Regions from separate parts of the Homo sapiens genome. Here all the other regions are linked to region 3. Evidence: promoter capture Hi-C in 16 types of primary human blood cells and fetal thymus (Javierre and others, 2016). All regions are on one chromosome and are shown on one strand. The core of a region is centred on a gene start or on the middle of the fragment in contact, and the rest is flanking DNA. Distances in the headings are between cores, read along the strand shown. Region 1 holds the start of LOC100130987 (a long non-coding RNA gene). Region 2 overlaps SPTBN2 (spectrin beta, non-erythrocytic 2). Region 3 holds the start of RHOD (ras homolog family member D). Region 4 holds the start of PITPNM1 (phosphatidylinositol transfer protein membrane associated 1).

The links. Contacts are between HindIII fragments. The CHiCAGO score rates a contact against its expected background, and 5 or more counts as called.
Region 1: a fragment that was not itself captured here is called in contact with the fragment with the promoter of RHOD in region 3 in 5 of 17 cell types (endothelial precursors, erythroblasts, M0 macrophages and 2 more); the score reaches 8.5 in endothelial precursors.
Region 2: a fragment that was not itself captured here is called in contact with the fragment with the promoter of RHOD in region 3 in 1 of 17 cell types (total CD8 T cells); the score reaches 5.9 in total CD8 T cells.
Region 4: a contact is called between the fragment with the promoter of PITPNM1 here and the fragment with the promoter of RHOD in region 3, in 1 of 17 cell types (erythroblasts). The highest score is 5.1, in erythroblasts.

The regions. Positions count from the first base shown.
Region 1 is chr11:67,316,131-67,318,935 of GRCh38, reverse strand. It overlaps LOC100130987 (a long non-coding RNA gene), which reads right to left and starts at 1,097. Exons shown (of 4, transcript NR_024469.1): 1 at 739-1,097. RefSeq lists a silencer at 677-726 and enhancers at 947-1,376, 1,417-1,466. The HindIII fragment of the contact is 3,873 bases long and covers 1-2,805 here.
Region 2 is chr11:66,698,381-66,701,138 of GRCh38, reverse strand. SPTBN2 (spectrin beta, non-erythrocytic 2) reads left to right here. Exons shown (of 38, transcript NM_006946.4): 17 at 1-613; 18 at 1,531-1,733; 19 at 2,057-2,147; 20 at 2,354-2,500. Among named protein-coding and RNA genes, the nearest start is that of RBM4B, 22 kb to the right of the region's middle. The HindIII fragment of the contact is 3,288 bases long and covers 1-2,758 here.
Region 3 is chr11:67,055,389-67,058,559 of GRCh38, reverse strand. RHOD (ras homolog family member D) reads right to left here and starts at 1,713. Exons shown (of 5, transcript NM_014578.4): 1 at 1,526-1,713. The coding sequence starts at 1,657. RefSeq lists silencers at 1,575-1,644, 1,655-1,814. The HindIII fragment of the contact is 21,888 bases long and covers 1-2,809 here.
Region 4 is chr11:67,503,714-67,506,757 of GRCh38, reverse strand. PITPNM1 (phosphatidylinositol transfer protein membrane associated 1) reads left to right here and starts at 1,395. Exons shown (of 24, transcript NM_004910.3): 1 at 1,395-1,570; 2 at 2,537-2,655. The coding sequence starts at 2,578. CDK2AP2 (cyclin dependent kinase 2 associated protein 2) reads left to right here. Exons shown (of 4, transcript NM_005851.5): 4 at 1-261. RefSeq lists silencers at 1,099-1,728, 1,939-2,098, 2,109-2,228, 2,309-2,408 and enhancers at 2,187-2,936, 2,937-3,044. The HindIII fragment of the contact is 23,305 bases long and covers 1-3,044 here.

The DNA.
Region 1 (2,805 bases), core at 97-2,596, 260 kb before region 3:
TAAACAAACGAACAAAAAGCAAAAAACCGCCCTGCTTAGGAGAATGAACTTGCCCAGAAATAAAGTGAATTCAAAAATTAAGAAAAGGTCTTATGGTGGCTAGGGACTATTGTAGAAATTATCAGAAACGATAGTTGGGACCTGGGATAGCAGTTCCTCTATGCAGTCCCTGGGCTAAAAACTTACATGCGTCATCTCATTTAATCCTCAAAAACCTGAGGTAGTATTAACATTATCCCCAATCTTGCAAATGAAGAAGCTGAGTCTCAAGAGATGTCCTAACTTTGCCCAAAGTCACAAACCCAAGTTTCTCTGACTCTAGATCCCAAGCTGAGAGTCTTGCTCAGATCATCCCAGGTCCCCTTCTTTCTTCTTGCACTTGGGGTGCAATAAGGGGCAATGGGGCCAGCAGTGTGTAACATACTGCACCGTAGGAAGAGACGTTAGGATCATCGGTCTCAGCCTCCGTATTTTACAGAGGAAGGAACTCGTAGGTCACACAGAGCCAGGGGGCTGCTCTGCAACAGAATCTCAATGGACACTAGAATTCCAGTCCAAGCCCCATTTTACAGAGCGTGGGAACTGAAGCCCACCGGGCCTGGGGGCCTCCCGGGTTCCGAATCCACCAGCGGCTGAGCCAGATCCAGCCCCGGGCGCACTCACTGCCCTGTCTGATTCTACCTCCGCGTTCACCTGCGCCGCGAACCCTCCCCGTGGGCTGCCAGCGCCCGGGAGTACCTGTCGGCCGCGCGCAGGCCCTCGGCTCGGGGTGACAAGACGCTGGCGCGGGCAAGCGGGGCTTCGCGGGCCACAGCCAGATCTCGGCCTCGAGGACCCGGGTCGCCACGCCAGCCCCTTTCCTCAGAACGCCGAGGCCTCAGGAGCGTGTGCGCGCCGGGACGCCCCAGAGAATTTGGAAGCGCTGGTCCCGGAGGCAAGGCCGGCTTGGTCTCCTCTCCTCAATCCCCCGACGCCATCCCCTGGACCTTCTGCAGACCGGGTCCCAGCCCCAGCGCACCTCAGGAAGAAACAACACCTTCGCGCTTAGCTGAGTCAAGCGGCCAGGACTCTAGAAGGGGCGAGGTTCCCATGGCAACGAGGGAAACTCTTTGCGCCTGCGCAGAGGCGCTCGGCACGCTGGGAAATGTGGTTTCCGGGTTGTCCCTGGAGGCTAAGGGAATGGACACAAGGTGGCGCGCGAACGTTGCGGTCGATGTGGCTAAGCCCGGGTCCCCAGCTGCCGGGCGCTGCGGGCGCAGGAGAGGCCGCGAAGGTCTGAAAGGTAGTTTCTCTGAGGCGTCTGGGATGCGGAGTGAAGAGAAGGAGGCACAGTCTCTTCAGCGCGGTTGATTTTGCCGTTTGAAAACTTGGCCTAACAAGCGGCAGCCCTGGCTAGGGCGAGGGCAGTTGCTTCCGAGGCCCCGCCCCAGCCTGGGCTGAGCCGGGAGCGGCCGAGGGAGGGGGCTGTGACGGTGGGAGCTGGTTCCGGAGGGAAGCGCGCGACGGTCGTGCTGCAAGCGTTCCAGGTCCAGGCTGGGCGACCCCTCGCGCTGCTGAGAGGCTCCTATGCCCGGTGGGAGTTGAAGTCGGGCTCCGGGAGCAGCAGTCATCCTGATCCTCCCACCCGCGAGCTCCAAGCACTTCTGGATCCAGGTCCCGCCTTGGGCGGAAATGTGCAGTCAGTTGACTGCCCAGGAGCCACCTTCCCCGCTCCCGCGTTAGTCTCTTGGAATGAGAATCTAGAAACCTAGGATCTGATTCCGGCTCTGTTAGAGATTAGTAGTTACTTCTCTGAGCCTCAGTTTCCTCATTTCTAGAAAACGATGGTATTGGGGCAGGCGCGGTGGCTCACGTCTGTAATCCCAGGACTTTGGGAGACGGAGGGGGTGGATCACCTGAGGTCAGGAGTTAGAGACCAGCCTGGGCAACATGGCGAGACCCCCTCTTCTACTAAAAATATGAAAATTAGCCAGCGTCGTGGCACAAAAAAAAAAAAAGAAAAGATTTTTTTTTTTGGAGATGGAGTCTCTCTCTGTCGCCCAGGCTGGAGTGCAGTGGCACTATCTCGGCTCACTGCAAGCTCCGCCTCCCGGGTTCACGCCATTCTCCCGAGTAGCTGGGACTACAGGCGCCCGCCACCATGCCCGGCTAATTTTTTTGTATTTTTAGTAGAAACGGGGTTTCACCGTGTTAGCCAGGATGGTCTCGATCTCCTGACCTCGTTATCCACCCGCCTTGGCCTCCCGAAGTGCTGGGATTACAGGCGTGAGCCACCCCGCCCGGCCACAAAAGTGCTTTATAAAGCATTACCTGGAATGGGGGCGGGGGGGAGCCCTCAGACAACCTAAATGTTCATCAATAAATGACCACTTAACTGATGGATTCCATAAAATAGAACATGTGTGGTTATTTTTTAAATGAGGCAAATCTTTTATGTACTATTTGGGGGGAAAACTCAAATGGCGTTTTTCCTCTGCTCTCACACCATCACAATTATCAACACGTAAGACTTTGGTGACCAAAGATATTGGGTTGGCCAGGCGCAATGGCTCACGCCTGTAATCCTAGCGTTTTGGGAGGCCGAAACGGGTGGATCACCTGAGGTCAGGAGTTCGAGACCAGCCTCGCCAGCATGGTGAAACCCCCATCTCTACTAAAAATACCAAAAAAAATTAGCCAGGCATGGTGGTGGGCACCTGTAATCCTAGCTACTCGGGAGGCTGCGGCAGGAGAATCGCTTCAACCTGGAAGGTGGTGGTTGCAGTGAGCCAAGATTGCGCCATTGCACTCTAGCCTGGGTGGACA
Region 2 (2,758 bases), core at 200-2,699, 360 kb after region 3:
AGGCAACGATCTGGCTGGGGTGCTGGCCCTGCAGCGCAAGCTGGCCGGCACGGAGCGGGACCTGGAGGCCATCGCCGCCCGGGTGGGCGAACTGACTCGAGAGGCAAATGCCCTGGCTGCCGGCCATCCCGCTCAGGCAGTGGCCATCAACGCCCGGCTGAGAGAGGTGCAGACCGGCTGGGAGGACCTCAGGGCCACCATGCGGCGTCGAGAAGAGTCGCTGGGGGAGGCGCGGCGGCTGCAGGACTTCTTGCGCAGCTTGGATGACTTCCAGGCCTGGCTAGGCCGCACTCAGACTGCTGTGGCCTCTGAAGAAGGGCCGGCCACCCTGCCTGAGGCAGAGGCCCTCCTGGCCCAACATGCAGCCCTGCGGGGAGAGGTGGAGCGGGCCCAGAGCGAGTATAGCCGGCTGCGAGCCCTGGGCGAGGAGGTGACCCGGGACCAGGCTGACCCCCAGTGCCTCTTCCTACGACAGCGACTGGAGGCCCTGGGAACTGGCTGGGAGGAGCTGGGCCGAATGTGGGAGAGCCGGCAAGGTCGCCTGGCCCAGGCCCACGGCTTCCAGGGATTCCTGCGGGATGCTCGTCAGGCTGAGGGCGTGCTCAGCAGCCAGGTGAAAGTCCAGGGCAAAGTCCCAAGCAGGAGGAAGAGCAAAGTAGGGACCCGGGGAAATGTGAAGGAGCAGGATGGGCAGGAAGGACATGCTAGCAAAATGGGGCAGCGCAGTGGTTCACACCTGAAATTCCAGCACTTTGGGAGGCCAAAGTAGGAGGATCACTTGAGGCTGAGAATATCCAGACCAACCTGGGCAACATGGCAAGACCTTGTCTCTACAAAAAAATTTTTTTAAGAAAATAGAAGAATTTTTTAAAAAGAAAAATGGGAGCCAGACAGGATGGCTCACACTTGTACTCCCAGTATTTTGGGAGGCCGAGGCAGGAGAATAACTTGAGCTCAGGAGTTTGAGACCAGCCTGGGCAACATAGTGAGACCCCCATCTCTATGAAAAAAAAAAATTAACTGGACATGGTGGTGCATGCCTGTAGCTCCAGCTACTGGGGAGGCTGAGGCTGGTGGATCACTGGAGCCAGGAGTTTGAGGCTGCAGTGAGCTATGATATGCCACTGCACTCCAACCTGGGCCACAGAATGAAACCCTCTCTCAAAAAAAAGAAAAAGAAAAAAGAAGGAAAAATGAGAATGAAAAAGACGTGAATATAATTTACTAAAACTGACTTTAGAAGAAATAGAAAGCCCAGTTTGTCATGTAACTGTTAAATGGAATCAGGAGCTAGAAGTGAGATAGAACAGGATTTGGGCTGGGGAATGGAAGGTCCTTCCCACCCAGCTTCCCTGTGACTTTCTGAGGCTCCCATGCTGGCTGGCAGCCTCCCTGTCTTCAGAGCTCTCTGGGCTACCCTCCCTGTCTGCTTGTTGGTCCCTACCTCTCAGATTTGCCCCTGGGTGGGTCCCTCCTAGGGGGGTGAATTGTGCTGGGGAAAATGAGCTGAATGTCATCCCTCCCACACAGGAATATGTTCTGTCTCACACGGAGATGCCAGGGACACTCCAGGCTGCTGATGCTGCCATTAAAAAACTGGAGGACTTCATGAGCACCATGGACGCCAATGGGGAACGGATCCACGGGCTCCTGGAGGCTGGCCGCCAGCTGGTATCTGAAGGCAACATCCACGCCGACAAGATTCGGGAAAAGGCAGACTCCATTGAGAGGAGGTCTGATGAGGACAGTCCATGAATTAGGGTTCCCAGGGGGGAATCGGAGAAACAGGGTGACCTCAAAGATAAACGTGGCACAGGAAACCCACAGATGGGGCAGGAGCTGACAGAGAAGTAGAGGGGAAGAACTAAGTGGTTGGAGAGGGCTGGGAGATTCCACCCCCAACCAGGGCTAAAAGGAAGTCAGGATTCCTGGGTAGCCTCATTGTGCTCCCGGAAGGCGTTATTCCCCTAGAAGAAATGGAGGCCCCTAGGTTAGCCAAAGGGTCACAATCCTTTCACAGCAAATTCCAGAGTTTCACAAGAGGGTGTCGTTCCAGGCACAAGAAGAATCAAGACGCAGCGCAGCAATTTCTGGGCCGTCTTCGGGACAACCGGGAGCAGCAGCATTTCCTGCAAGATTGTCACGAGGTGAGGCTCCCTGGGGCCCCGGGATATTCCCTAGCCATCCCTTTCTCACCTTGAGCCTAGAATAAGTCCAGCACAAGGTACCGGAGACTGTGAGCCCCTTCATGGCTTCTTCCCAAGGCGCCCACTTCTCCTGGCTCACTGTGGCCCTGCTTTTATGCCCCCCTCTCCCCTCCCTTGGAAATGTCCCTGTTTTATGTTTGGTCCAGCTGAAGCTCTGGATCGACGAGAAGATGCTGACAGCCCAGGACGTGTCCTATGACGAGGCCCGCAACCTGCATACTAAGTGGCAGAAGCACCAGGCATTCATGGCCGAGCTGGCTGCCAACAAAGACTGGCTGGACAAGGTGGACAAGGTGAGCAGTGCTGTGGGGGCTGCCTCTGGGCAGAGTCCCCCATGGTACGGGGGAGGGCCTGGCTCCAGGACGTGGTTTTTGTCATGGTTAGAGATTGTGGGGTTCTGGTGCCACAGCTCCATGGTGGAAAGTTATGGCCTCTGGGAAACAAACGTCTTTGTTGGAGACAAAGAGTGGGACAGTGAGTCCAGAACCTTGATAAAGTACAAATTAGCAGGTAGCGAAACTGCAGCCTGGATTTAACGCCATAACTGTTCC
Region 3 (3,171 bases), core at 464-2,963:
GCGGGCAGATCGCTTGAGGCCAGGAGTTCGAGACCAGCCTGACCAACATGGCAAAACTCCATCTCTACTAAAAATAAAAAAATTGGCTGGGTGTGGTGGCTCACACCTGTAATCCCAGCATTTTGGGAGGCCAAGGTGGGCGGATCACCAGGTCAAATGATCGAGACCATTCTGGCCAACATGGCGAAACCCTGTCTCTACTAAAAATATACAAAAATTAGCTGGGCACGGTGGCACGCGCCTGTAGTCCCAGCTACTCGGGAGGCTGAGGCGGGAGAATCGCTTGAACCTGGGAGGCAGAGGTTACAGTGAGCCGAGATTGTGCCACTGCACTCTAACCTGGCGACAGAGCGAGACTCCGTCTCAAAAATAAAATAAAATAAAATAATTTTAAAAATTAGCTAGGCGTGGTGGTGGGCGCCTGTAATCCCAGCTACTTAGGAGGCTGAGGCAAGAGAATCGCTTGAACCCAGGAGGCGGAGGTTGCAGTGAGCTGAGATTGTGCCAATATCACTCCAGCCTGGGTGACAGAGTGAGACTCTTCTCAAAAAAAATAAAAATAAAAAAAAAGAAGAGATGCTGGAAGCAACTCCATGGACTCCCAGGACAACAGGGCTGAGAGGCGGCAGAGCAGGGGCCGCCTGGTGCCCGTGGAGTCTGCCTGGGCAGTCAGTGAGCATGTCAGGAAGGATTAACGGTGGGCATGCCTACAGCGCCAAGGACATGCCAGCTACCGCACGGGAGCTGCCTGTCAGCCTCCCCTGGGCTCCACTTCACCACTGCCCTACAGTCCCTCTACCCCATGGGGTTGTTGTGAGGAAACTGAGGCTCAGAGAAGCTAAGCAGGTTACAAAAGGGCACGGGGCTCAGAGGAGAGCAGAGACGCGGGCCCAGCAGCTGAGGCTACAGCTGGCGTGCTCCCACCCTCCAAGGCAGAGCCCATGGCATGTGCTTTCCAGCGGCAAGAGCTGGAAGGGAGACAATGTTTCCCAGGAGCGACATGTGCCAACTCTCCGTGAGTCCTTCCTGTGCACAGGCCGGGGCTGAGTGCTTGAGGTCTATTAACTCTCTGTCACAGTGACCCTGTGTGGTGGGCACTGTCACTCACCTGTGATGTAGTGAGGGACACAGGCACAGCAGGGTTAGGGGACTTACCCAAGGGCACACAGCTATAAGAGGCAAAGCCATAATTTGAACCTCGGCAGTCTGGCTTCCAAGCTCTCAGGCCCTCAGCGGAATTGTGTGGCCAAGTGCTGTCTTAGGATCTTGTGTGCACCCAGGTCGCCTCACTCAGTCCTTGTGACACCTCTCCCCGGTGGATGCCATTCCTCCGGCTTTACAGATAACATCACTGAGGCCTTCATTCCCAATGGCTGGGGCGGAAGAACTCTGCCCTGGACCCCAGGCCCCGCTGGGACACCCCTCGGAGGCCGGGTTAGGCGCACAGCCTGGGCCGCTCCGGCACGGACCTGTACACCCGGGCGCGCGAGCGGAACCGGGCGAGGCGGAGGCGCGGGGCACTCACCTCGGGGAAGGCCCCATCGGCGAAGACCATCAGCAGCGACGTCTTCCCGCAGCCGCCGTCGCCCACCAGGACCACCTTGACGGACCGCACGCCTGGTGGCGCCTCCTCACCCGCGGCCTGGGCCGCCGTCATCCCGGGGCCGGGCGCTGAGCGGGCGGGCGGGCGGCTGCGGCGCAGAGACCCAGACTGCGCGGGGCAGGCCCGGCGGGGCAGGAATGTGGAAGGGGCGGGGCGGCGGGAGGAAGTGCGAGCCGGGCGCCCCGAGAGCCAGGTGAGAGGCCCGGGCGGCTGGGCTGGGGCCCTTCCTCTCCAGGCCGTCTAGGTCCCTGAAGAAACGCTGCCCGAGCACCTACTGTGAGCTGGCCGCGCTGGGGCCACGGGAGGTCGGAAGGGAGAAGACAAACAGCGGGACCATGACAGTGGGGGCGGGGGTGTGCTCAGGGGCTGGGTCCCAGATCCCAGGCAGGAGCCAGTGACCTTTAGTGAATGAATGAATGAATGAATGAATGGTGCATTTCCCCAGGGGTCTCAGGACGCAGCACAACACAGGCGTTTCATGCCAGGTGGGAAGGGGATGACCCCCTTCACTGGCCCCACCAGGCCTGGCCTGCCCCCTCCCGCAGCACCAGGAAGCTCTGCTGCAGGTGGGCAGCCACCTGACACCGTGGCTGGCCACGATCTAGGGAAAGCGATAGAACCTTCCCTCTGTAAAGTGTGAGTGTTTCTTATTATTGCACCATGAGATGTCCCCCTGGTGCCCAAGGGCCCGGGGACCCTGAACTGTTTAAGACAAAATCCAGGCCCTGCCTTGAGAAGCCCACGGCTTAGAATGGTAGACACGCAGGACATCAGTGTGATCAGAACTACAACGGGAGTAGGGACAGGCAGCGGGACGGGAGTAGGGGAAAAGAGCTCCTCGCCCACGTTGAGGGAGTCAGGAAACCTTTCAGAGTCTTGAGGAAAAAGTGAAACACAGTCAGATGGGGGAGGGAAAAGGTGTTCCACCGGAGACAGCGGCACGTGCGAAGCTGCGGAGGCCGGAGCGGAATGCTGCCCCCCCACCCCGCCCCCGCAGAGGGTGAGGCTCGCTTGCACAGTGGTGCAGCATGAGGAGCTGGTGCTTGCTCAGTGGAGCACGTTGGATGCCAGCAGTAAATCCAGCATTGAACTGGGAACTCATTGTCACCTGATCTCTCCACTTCTCCTAATGGCCAGAGTTGAAATCTTTTAAAAATGGGCACAAGGGTCTTCCCAGATCTTGGACTGAGTGTTTCTATTGAAGCTTAAAAGAACAAGGGGCAGACGTCATTAGGTTCCCCCTAATTTATGCTGGTCATGACATCCCCCCTCATGGAGTTCCAAGTCAGGCAGGTGAAAAAGCACCTTCAACCTCCTTTAAACTCACTGTGGTCTAAAGAGGCAGCCAGGGCAGGAGTCACTAGGTGGAGAGGCAGAGCCCAGCTCCTTGACTCCTCTGCCCGGCTCCCGCTCCGGGCTGTGGTCTGCAGGCTGGATGGAGCCCCACTTGGAGGGAAGGATCCTCCCCAGCACAGCTCTGCCTTTCCAGGTGCCCCTTCCTCCCCGAAACTGCCACAGGGCTCGGCAGTGACTTGACACTGGGCTGGGCAGGTAGCTCCAGAGCAGGG
Region 4 (3,044 bases), core at 146-2,645, 450 kb before region 3:
AGAGTTAGCAGCGAGGTCCCCATGAGTCCCACCCATGACCTGCCGACAGTGTTGCCCACCGGAACTTTTGTGGCCCCTACCGCTCAGCCCTTCCCAGCACTTCTCCCACTTTGTCCCGAGCCTCCTTCTCCCCCAGCAGGGGCACAGGCCTGGCACCTCCCTGCCTTGTGTCCTGAGCCATAGTGACTCTTTTATCTGTGTGTCTTTTGCTAAATATGCCCTTTTTATATTAATAAAAGATGATTTGGAGTTGTGCTCTCAGCTCTGAGCCTTTCTGGGTCTGGTTCTTCAGCTAAGCCTGGGTGGGCCAGGCAGAGACAGGGGAAGAGGAGACTATGGATGGGGAGGGTGTGATTAAATGAGGTTTGACTTGCCTCTGTAGGCCATCAGCCTTTGGTGGGACCTGGGCCCTCTCCGCCCCAGCCGTGGCGCTGAGAGCCCTGGGCCTTCCTGTGGTGCCACCAGGGGGCAGCACAGGGCCTGGCTGCTTCCACAGCCCTTGGCGCTGTGGGCAGCCTGGGCCTGGAGGGCGCTTCCTCTGGATTGGCGGTGATGCCTGGCAGCATGGAAATGCCAGTTCACGTAAGCCACTCCCTCACACGCCCTAATGCCCTGACAACACCCCAGCCTCTGAATCAGCCCTGAAGGTCTCTGACTTCTCAGAGAGAAAGGGCACTGCTGCTTCCAGCACTTGGCCTCAGTGTCAAGGGGAGGGGCTGGCGGGGTGCTGCCGTCACTGCCCCAGCACCTTGTAGCAGGCTGGGTGGGATCCCATGAACCCAGCCTTGGGGTGCCTCGTGAGGCCTTTGCCCAGACTCCGGGTGGCTGGGTGACCGGACTTGTGGACCCGGAAGGCAGAGGTGGGGGAGGCTTTGTGGCACCATGCAGGGGCTAGCCCAGCCACTCACAGTGACAGCCCGTTTCTGCCTGGGCGTGTAGCTGGGTGACCATAGAGGCCTGGGGCCCTGGAGCCGAGCCCAGCCCTAGGTGGAGGCATGTCAGAGCCACCAGCTTCTGGCTAGACTGGTGGGGAGGCATTTCCTCAACCCTGGGTCCCAAATCTAAGGACTGCAGAGAGTGAGAAGAGGAGAGTGGGCCTGGGACCCCCCATATCAAACCACCCTGTGACTGCACACAGGAGGGCTGGGCTAGGGTGGAGATAGGAACTAAGAGTCTTTGGGGACCCCAATCAGCACAGAGGGACTAGGAAGAGCCAGAATTTAGGCAATGGCCTTTTTCCCACTGCCCGGGGGAAGGAAGGCAGGGGCCTCCCTCCCTGCCTCCTCCGCTGCAGGCGGGGCTGCCCGGACCCCGCCGGGGTGGGGAGGGCCAGCCGGGCCCAGGAAGGGGGCGGGGCGGCCGCAGTGACGCGGCGGGCGTCGGGGAGGGACTGCAGGGGCGCCGGCGGGCGGATCGAGAGGAAGGTCGGGGCCATGGGCCGGCACTGCGCCTCGGGAGGGTCCGGCCACCGCTGGAACCCGAGGCCGGGGCTGGGGGCGCTCCGGGCTCCGACCCACGGGCCGGCCGGCCCTGCCCGGGCTGGGTGAGGGGCGCCCGCCTCAAGCTAGAGGTGAGCCGGGGCGTCGGCAGGCGGGCCAAGAGCGCGGCAGGGGACCGGGACGCCGGCGAGCAGAGGGAAGTGGGGACAACGGGGCCTCTCGCTTGCTCGCGGGGTGCGAGTGGGGGATGGAGGGGTGCCTGCAGCGGAACCTCGGTGCCAGTCTGGGGCGCAGGTGGACGGAGCGGGTCTCCAGGGCCATGGCCCGTGGGATACCAAGTGGAGCCACTCTGGCCTCAGCCTGAGGAGGGCTCACCCCCTGGGAAGAGGACGGAGTGGCTGCCTAGGCGCGTGGAGAGCCGGCGAGGGCCAGGGGTCCAGGAAGGATGCTGGGAGGGGGAGGTCGAGGACCCGGCTGCCCAAGAAGGCAGATCTGGAGGGCGGAGGAGATTACCGGTCCCGGAAGGTAGGTTCGGGTGCAGGGCGTGGGGAACCCTGGCAGAGATGCTGGGCGCACTGGGCCACTCCGCGCAGAGACACTCGGGGAACAAAGCTCTAGGTGGACGTCCGAGAGTGGGGGACTTGGGACCCCGCCGACTCCGGGAAGGGGATGCAAGGGGCGGGTCCCCGAGGGGCCGGTCGCGGAAGGCGGGCCCGGAAGGAGGGGCCCCGGGGCTTCGGGGGCGCGCCCAGAGGGATGCCGTTTCCCGGGGTTAGGACGCGGTCGCAGCGGGAGAGGTGAGGTGGCCCTCCCGCCCGCCGGCCGGAGCCTGGCGCTCCGGGGGGCCCGCGTCAGCGCGCGGTTGCCATGGCGACGGGCGGGCGGGGGGCGGGGGCTGCGCGGAAAAGAGGTCAGCGCTCAGCCTCGCTGCGGCTCCCGGCCCCGGCGGCGCGGGCGGCGGTGCTAGGCTCGCCTCTGCCTCCCTCGTGGCGGGCCCGGACATGGGGTCCCGTGGCCTGAGTCCCTCGGCCGGCGCGCAGGGCTCGGGGCCGCGCGCAGCCTCCCCGCACTGACTGTCGCGCCGTGCCCTGCGCCAGGAGGAGCGGAGGCCGCGCGCGGCCCGCCGAGCGCCTTCAGGATGCTCATCAAGGAATACCACATTCTGCTGCCCATGAGCCTGGACGAGTACCAGGTGGCCCAGCTCTACATGATCCAGGTGAGGGCGGCGGGGAGAGGGCACCCGGGCAAGGGGTGGAGCCCTGCCGACCCCGCCAGCCCTGCCCCGGGGCTGGGACCGGCTGGGAGCCCGGAGGAGGCAAGAGAGGCCCCCCTTCAGATGTGGGAATGGGGAAGGACTGTGGGAAGAGGGGCAGGAGGGCCGAGTGGTGCTTCCCATCCGCTAAGTGCCCAGCCCTCCTCTGATCTCCTGTAATCCTCCTCAGGATCTGTAATCCCATCGGGGAAGGAAAAAGCGCCCAGGAGGCGGCAAGAATGAGGAGGGGGGCCTCCGCGGCAGAGGAAGGCGGGAGGGGGTCTGGAGAAGTGGAGGGTCCTGGCCATCCCTGGAGGTCAGGGAGATGTGGTGAGGACCAGGTGTCAAACCTG